Regions from separate parts of the Homo sapiens genome. Here region 2 is linked to region 1. Evidence: promoter capture Hi-C in human tissues and cell types (Jung and others, 2019). All regions are on one chromosome and are shown on one strand. The core of a region is centred on a gene start or on the middle of the fragment in contact, and the rest is flanking DNA. Distances in the headings are between cores, read along the strand shown. Region 1 holds the start of CLDN1 (claudin 1). Region 2 has its middle 71 kb from the start of P3H2-AS1.

What was found. Contacts are between HindIII fragments. The study calls those that stand out against the background at their distance.
Region 2: a fragment that was not itself captured here is called in contact with the fragment with the promoter of CLDN1 in region 1 in 1 of the 25 tissues and cell types used here (lymphoblastoid cells).

The regions. Positions count from the first base shown.
Region 1 is chr3:190,320,444-190,324,338 of GRCh38, forward strand. CLDN1 (claudin 1) reads right to left here and starts at 2,003. Exons shown (of 4, transcript NM_021101.5): 1 at 1,541-2,003. The coding sequence starts at 1,763. It also overlaps a transcript of CLDN16 not described here. RefSeq lists a silencer at 1,994-2,153. The HindIII fragment of the contact is 5,719 bases long and covers 1-3,885 here.
Region 2 is chr3:190,189,991-190,193,885 of GRCh38, forward strand. No RefSeq gene overlaps it. Among named protein-coding and RNA genes, the nearest start is that of P3H2-AS1, 71 kb to the left of the region's middle. RefSeq lists an enhancer at 2,934-3,123. The HindIII fragment of the contact is 5,895 bases long and covers 1-3,895 here.

The DNA of each region.
Region 1 (3,895 bases), core at 753-3,252:
TTTATAAGTACAAATATAACCCCTGAGGGCAATGAGCAACACATAATTACTAAACTTATGGATTGGTTTTGGTGTAAAGAAGTCCTGATATGAGAACCTTCAAAAGCTGAAATAATAACACTCAAAACAACCATGCACATTGACTGAGCAAATGCCACAGGTATTCAAGGTGTTCAAACAGATTTGGAACAGGTTTAATAACTCTAAACTATATGGCTTTTGATATACACTATTAAAAGTTGTCCCTTGATAGGAGGTAGACAAAACAAGTTAAGTAAACTTGAACAATGCCAACACTTTTCACCCTTAGCATGCAATGGGGGCCAGTGGGCAGTCACGTTCATCTAGGCAAAGACTAAGGGATCTTTTCTTCAAGTGAGTTAAAGGGCATAACAGACACATGATATAAGACAATTAATGTGATTTCTCAAGGAAGATACTCCAGCCGTGAATCATTATTATCTAAGTAAATGGGAATTTAATGACTTTTCGGACAAGGAACTCGAAACCTTTAATTTAAAAAACAAAGTAAAACAATTATCCTATTATCCTTCTTCCCACCATCCTTAGAAATATGTCTCTCTATACAATCCTTTCCAGTTTTACAGGGGGTCACTGAACATCCATTACACAGAAATTTCTTTGTGGAAGATGGAAACCTAAGGAAGACCCACCTCTTCTTTCTCTCTCACTGCCTTCCACTCCCAGCTGACCTCTGATTTCATCAGCTATGACTATTTTGCTGCATTTCCCTTCAGTGCCTTTACTTTTTTCTTTGTATTATGTTGCGCAGGTTATTTAGAACCTTTCTTGTCAGCCTTTCCCCACCTGCCACCAACCTTCTCTTTCCAAGATAGCACTACACCGTCAGCCTCTACAGAAGACCTTGGGTCTGAAAATTAAAACTTCGGGGGAATCTCAAGCAGCTTCTCCAAAGAGTCTTGCAAGGGGCCTCCCTGCACTAACTGGATCTTATAAATTAAAAGAATCAACCTCAAGCATAAGCAGAAGACACTTAGATAGGACATTTCCAGTAGGAATGTAACTTTTACTATGAAAAAATCATATTAAAGGTTAAAAAGTTATATCTAATACTTGAGGATTATTTATTTAAGCGTGCACACTTGAGAAGTTACCAGGCTTCAAACTTTTTCAGTCATCCCATTTTCTTGTCTGAACTCTACCAATCCTCAATTTACCCCAAATCTCGGAATGCCTAGGAGAGGTCTAAGAGCTCAAGTTCAAGTTTGGCCTTCACTCCCTCAACTCGAACCACCAGCATAGGAATTTAGGATGAAGCCACACCTAGAGTGGCAGAAGTGTCACCCAGGGAGTTAGAGGCAAAACTAGAGCTTATGCCTGGGCGTCGCTTTCCTCAAACCAGGATTCTCTTCATTTCCTTATGACAGAGCACATGATCAGAAGACTTGATCAACTGAAGACTGATAACCATGGAATCACACAACAGAATGAGCCCATAAGGGAGCTGCAGGGGGACTGGGGCCTCTGGACGGCCGCTGTGAGGTGGGGGTGCACTCACTGCTCAGATTCAGCAAGGAGTCAAAGACTTTGCACTGGATCTGCCCGGTGCTCTGCGACACGCAGGACATCCACAGCCCCTCGTACATGGCCTGGGCGGTCACGATGTTGTCGCCGGCATAGGAGTAAATCCTCCACTGGGGCAGGGCAGTGCTGACGATGGCGCCGATCCATCCCAGGAAGGCGAGAATGAAGCCCAACAGCTGCAGCCCCGCGTTGGCCATGACTCGCTCGGGCGCCCGCGCTGGCTCAGGGGTGGCAGGTGCAGAAGGCGGAGAGTTTGCAGGTGGGCAACCCGGACTCCCGAAGGTGGCTGGGCCCCGCGGAGGAAGTTAAGGCGGGGAGCCCTGCTCGCTGCGCCGCCGCTGGAGAAGCTCTGGGTCGGGGTTGGGGTCCGCGCCCGGGGCGGCGCTGGAGTCTGGATACTAGAAGCTGCGGTTGCTCCCAGGCTCGGGAACTGAGACGCAGAACCGCTGGGCGCCGCGATTTAAAGCAGCTCCGCCCGCCTCAGCCCCGGCAGCCGGGGAGCGCCCCCTGGCGGTTTCAGGGCGGCTCACCGAGAGGGCGCCGGGAGCGCCCGGTTGGGGAACGCGCGGCTGGCGGCGTGGGGACCACCCGGCAGGACCAGGCACCAGAGCTGCGTCCCTGCTCGCTTTCTCTCGTGGATCTTCTCGCTCCTGTAAGGCGTTTCACGCTTTTCATTCATTCACTCCAATTATCCAAAAATTACTATGCACTGTACTTGTAAATCCTAACACAAAGATGAAAAAATGATCCTTCAAGAGCTGCAGTTTTAGGTTTAATACTTTTTTCCCAATATCTTATTAAAAGGCATTTCTACCCAACTCCGCGTCTCCTCCCCCATCACACCATTTCTCTCTCCTTTGCTTGGCTTCCTCCCCCTTCTTTCCTCTCTCTGCTCTCTTCTGTCAAGGTCGTTCCATCACTTGTCTCTGCAAGGAGCCTCAGAGACTTTTACACTCTACAGATTGGGAAACAGACCCAGAGAGCAACATGATTTACACACACACACACACACACACACAGACACACTCACGCACGGAGCATATCCAGTACTTGGCTCCCCTCCCAATCTGCTTTCCACTACATATCAAGTTGACCCAAAATATCCCCTTTGATCTATGATTGTCCTTTTTGATGTATTATTGTCCTTATGAAACTGCAGGCTAGCAGCCCTTCCCCGCCAAACACCAACCTCCTCCCCACAGCAGTTATGTCTTAGAGCAGCAATTCATTATCAGAGGGACCTGGCCAGTGCCCCGCTCTCCCTGAAAGGTGTTAATTTTGTGAGTTATCAAATGTTGTTCGTCGCAGGTGAGGACATGTAAACAGCGTTTCCCCAGTGGCAAAAGGACTGGGCTGGAGTTGAGGAAGTCTGGGCTCTGGTTCCAGCTTTTACTGTGACTGGCTATCTCACCCCTCCGGTTTCGGTCTCGCTGGGACTGTAGTTTCCCTCTATGTTTCTCCAAAGCTTCCTTCTTTGTAGTTAGTCAGAAGTGCTGTTGTGGTTAGGAATCATTGAAATGTTTTTCCAACTGCTTTTTGTGTGTGGTGCGAGTGTGGTGGGAGGGGAAGCTTCTATGGTTTTAGTAAAAACAGAAGCATCTTGGAAGCAGAAATAAACATATTAAGGATAAAATAAGATATACCCTTATATACCATGGCAACTGCTAGTTGGTGACAGAGAAGGAAAGGTGCAAATTCTCAAGGTGGGAATGGGAAGAAAGGCCAAGCCCCACCACCTTCATTTCCACCTGGCTCTCCCTGGATGCCTTTCATGTAGGCTTAAAACTAAAGGACTTGGCCGTGCTAGGATTTAGGGACAAGCAATGAAGAATGTAAGACAGGAGCTAGATGAAGACAATTAATTTGGACTGAGATTAACACAGTGAATACTGTCTTTCTCCTATCAGCTGTTTAGGACAAGACCATGTTCGTGTTGTATCCCAGGGTTAGGGCCTGCAGTCAGTACTACTGTCTAGGTCTCAGTGGATGTTCTGTGGGTGCCTGTCAGTGTGGATGAAGATGTATCAATCACATTTGATTTTGTAAAAATTCCCTGATCAGAGAAGGCACTGGAATTTGCTGCAGGACTAGAGCAGTACCATGTGAATCATATAATCTCATTTTCTTCTTTTTTTTGTTCCAAACATTTAAGAATTAAAAGTATTATTAAACACCCGGGCACGGTGGCTCAGGCCAGGCGCAGTGGCTCACGCCTGTAATCCCAACACTTTGGGAGGCTGAGGCAGGCGGATCACTTGAGATCAGGAGTTCGAGATCAGCCTGGCCAACATGGTGAAACCCCGTCTCTACTAACAATATGAAAATTAGC
Region 2 (3,895 bases), core at 391-2,890, 130 kb before region 1:
AATCAGCTTGACCGACATGGTGAAACCCTGTCTTTACTAAAAATACAAAAAATTAGCCGGTCGCGGTATGCCCCTGTAATTCCAGTCACTCAGGAGGCTGAGGCAGGAGAATCGCTTGAATCCGGGAGGCAGAGTTTGCAGTGAGCTGAAATCGCACCACCACACTCCAGCCTGGGCAACAGAATGAGACTTGATCTCAAAAAAAAAAAAAGTTATTGTTTATAATTATGTGATTTATGTTAACATATAATGGGTTTATTAAATAAAATAAATAAATAATTTGGAAAGTCCCCAGTTTTCATTTCTAATATAGGAAATAGCAATAGATGTAACCTACATAAACAGAAGCACTTTGGAATCCTCAATATTTTCAAGAGTATAAGGAGGTCAAGAGACCAAAAAGTTTGAGAATAGTTATTATAGTGCAGAGCTTCTTAAACTTTAGTATGTGTATTAAATTTCTGCATATGTATAATATGTTAAACCGCATGCTGATTCTCTAGGTGCGATGGTTCATTTTATGTCAACTTGACTAGCACACTGGGGTGCCCAGATATTTGATCAAACATTATTTTGGGTGTGTCCATGAGGGTGCTTTTGGATGAGATTAACATTTGAATAATTGAACTGAATAAAAAATAAAGCGGGTTGCCCTCTAACATGAATGGGGCACATTCAATCAGTTGAAGACCTCAATAGAAGTAAAGGCTGAACCTTTCATGAGTAGCAGTGAATTTCCTCCTGCCTAACTGTCTTGAGCTGGCATATCAATTGATGTATTCCTTCGAACTAAAACTGAAGCATCTTGGGTCTTGAGCCTATAGCCCTTCACACTGAAACTATACCATTGGCTCTCTTGGGTCTCCGGCCTGCTGACAGCATATTTTGGGAATTGTCAGACTCCATAATTTTGTGAGCCAATTCTTTGGAGAACCCCGATCAATCCAGTACTTCTGGGGTGGTACCTGAGATTCTGCATTCTGTCTACCTTCCAGATGATCTTGGTCCATGGACCACACTTCTAGGAGCAGAGGTCAGAGCACCAACGTAACCTGGGAGTTTATTACAAACACAGAACCTCAGACCCTGAGTTCAGACCCAGTGAATCAGAATCTTCATTTTTAACAAGATTCTTAGCTGGCCCATTTGCACACAATAATTTAAGAAGCACTGTTCCAGCGTGGTAGTAATCAGTCCTGAGTATGGAGTAGAATCGCCTGAATAGCATTAAAAAACAAACAAACAAATGATGTCTAGACTCCACTCCAATTAAATCAGAATCTCAGAGAATAGAGCCTGGATGGGTTTTAAAAACTGCACAGATGACATTAATGTGCAGTCATGAATGAAAACTATTGGTCAAAAATAAAGACTGAAGGCCAACAATGACCGTCTTTGAGGCTCTTAATGAAAGAAAATTAATTATCTAGATGCTAGGATGGAAGTCAAAGATCTTAAACAAATATAGTATTTCTGGAAATTGACTCAATAGTTAACCAAGCAGTCAAACCCTTGACTAAAACACCAAAGGAAATATAGCACTACTGTGTATAAGAAAAAAACTGTACAATTTACTTTGTATTTTTAAATTTTTATTTATTTCTTTATTTTTTGAGATGGCATTTTGCTCTTGTTGCCCAGGCTAGAGTGCAATGGTGCGATCTCAGCTCACTGCAACCTCCACCTCTTGGGTCCAAGCAATTCTCCTGCCTCAGCCTCCTGAGTAGCTGGGATTACCTGCATGCACCACCACGCCCAGCTAACTTTTTGGATTTTTAGTAGCGACGGGGTTTCTCCATGTTGGTCAGGCTGGTCTCGAACTCCCGACCTCAGTTGATCCACTTGCCTTGACCTCCCAAAGTGCTGGGATTACAGGCGTGAGCCACCGCGCCCGGCCGTACAGTTTCTTATGTGTTTGATATCTTCTTCCTGGTGTGAGGACTTAGCTTTGAGTGTTAACCGAAAATTCTAAGTCTAGGGTTCCTAAGTTGTTATGTGCTGCACTATACAAGTAAACCTACAGAGATGGAAGTGTTCTTAGAGATTATCTAGTCCAAGCACTTCATTTATAGGTAAAGAAACCGGGGCTCAGAGAGGGCGATTCACTCACAATAGCAGGCAGCATAATTTAGTAGCAGCAACAGACCTGAGTTAACTCATAGCCCTTACATTTCCCCTGGAGTCATCCCTTTGTTCCCACAACAAGTTACACACTTCCATCAGTACTCCCTGCAGCCTGTAAGTACAGTGATCACAATGCCTCCTCGAAATTCTGCTCACTGTTGATTGACTATTGTATATACTAGGCATTTATGTATTCATGATTGTTTACCTAGTCATTCATTCAACAACTGTTCATGGAGCCTCCACCACATGGCACCAGGAAACTAGTACACTTGATTGAAAATAGTTATTTCATCACATTACCATTGTTTGTAGAATTGTTTAATAAATTTCAGGTCTCCTGATTTCCACTTCAGTGTTCATATAACTGCATGTCCTACTGTCCTCCTTGGCACATGAAGATGGCTGAAAAAACTGAACTGTTCACCCAGCTGGGCAAGTAGGACTAGGACCTAGATTTCTGGAACCATTACATTGTCCTCTCTACAAACGAACTATGGCTTTAAGACCAAACATTGATGCTGGAAATAATTAGTAACTGAAAGCTCCTCCCAGGTTTTCCTCTTTTCTCTGAAAATAGAAGTATTTAAAAAGAGAGAGAGGGAGTATGAGAGAAAAAGGAAAGAAAAGAAAAGGCACACTGTTTGATGTACTGTATGTTGGAAAGCTTTGGAAAAATTTATAATGTGCTCTGTACTCAGAGACAAAATTTTCCAAGAGGACATTTATACAATTTCTTCCAAGAGTCTGCATCCTGTTATACTCTGGAAGAAGTGACCTCATGGTGTTTGTATTTGTCTCTCTCACAAAACCTCTTTTATAGTATTAATGCATGTGCAGGTCTTAGGATATGTAATACATGAGGCCCTGACTTGGGCAGGTCATTCTGAGAACACGCTGCTACTTTCATAATGGCATCATCTTGTTTTATAGTGGCAGAGGGGATGGGCGGAGGAGAGCCAGCTAGGAGAAAGTTCTATGCCAAGTCATTTGGAAAATATAAGCTACAAGCAATTGAGGGAACCTAATAAATTTGAAGGATATTAAAAAGCGATACATGTTACTAGTCTCAGAAGAATTAACAGTAATCACTATAACCCCTTACAGCATATTAGAATTACAGTAGTTCCCTCTTACCTGTGTTTTTGCTTTCCATGCTTTCAGTTACCCACAGTCCAGAAATAATAAATACAAAATTCTAGAAATAAACAATGCATACGTTTAAAATTGCAAGCTGTTCTGAGTAGCATGACAAAAACCTCACACCATCCCACCCAGGGCGTGAGTCATCCTTTTGTCGAGGGTATCCACGCTGTGTATGCTGCACACTCACTAGTCACTTCACCCTTTTGGTTATCAGATTGTCACAGTGTCAGGTGCTTGTATTCAAATGACCCCAATTTTACTTAATAATGGTTCCAAAGCACAAGGGTAGTGATGCTGGCCTATTGTTATAATTGTTCCATTTGATTGCTGTTGTGTTTACCTAGTTTATAAATGAAATTTTATCATAGGTTTGTATGTATCGGAAAAAAAACAATATATATAGGGCTTGGTGCTGAGGTTTCAGGCACCGCCGGGGTCCTTGGAACATACCCGCTGTGGATAAGGGGTACTACTACTATCTAAGGTGATTGTGTGCATACTACCTCATTTGTACATCAAGTTTCCGGTTTATAGAGTGATCATCCCTAGAGGATCTTGATTGTTTCTCCCAACATCCATGTGAGCTATGCAGGACCAGTATTATCTCAAATTTATAAGTGAGAAA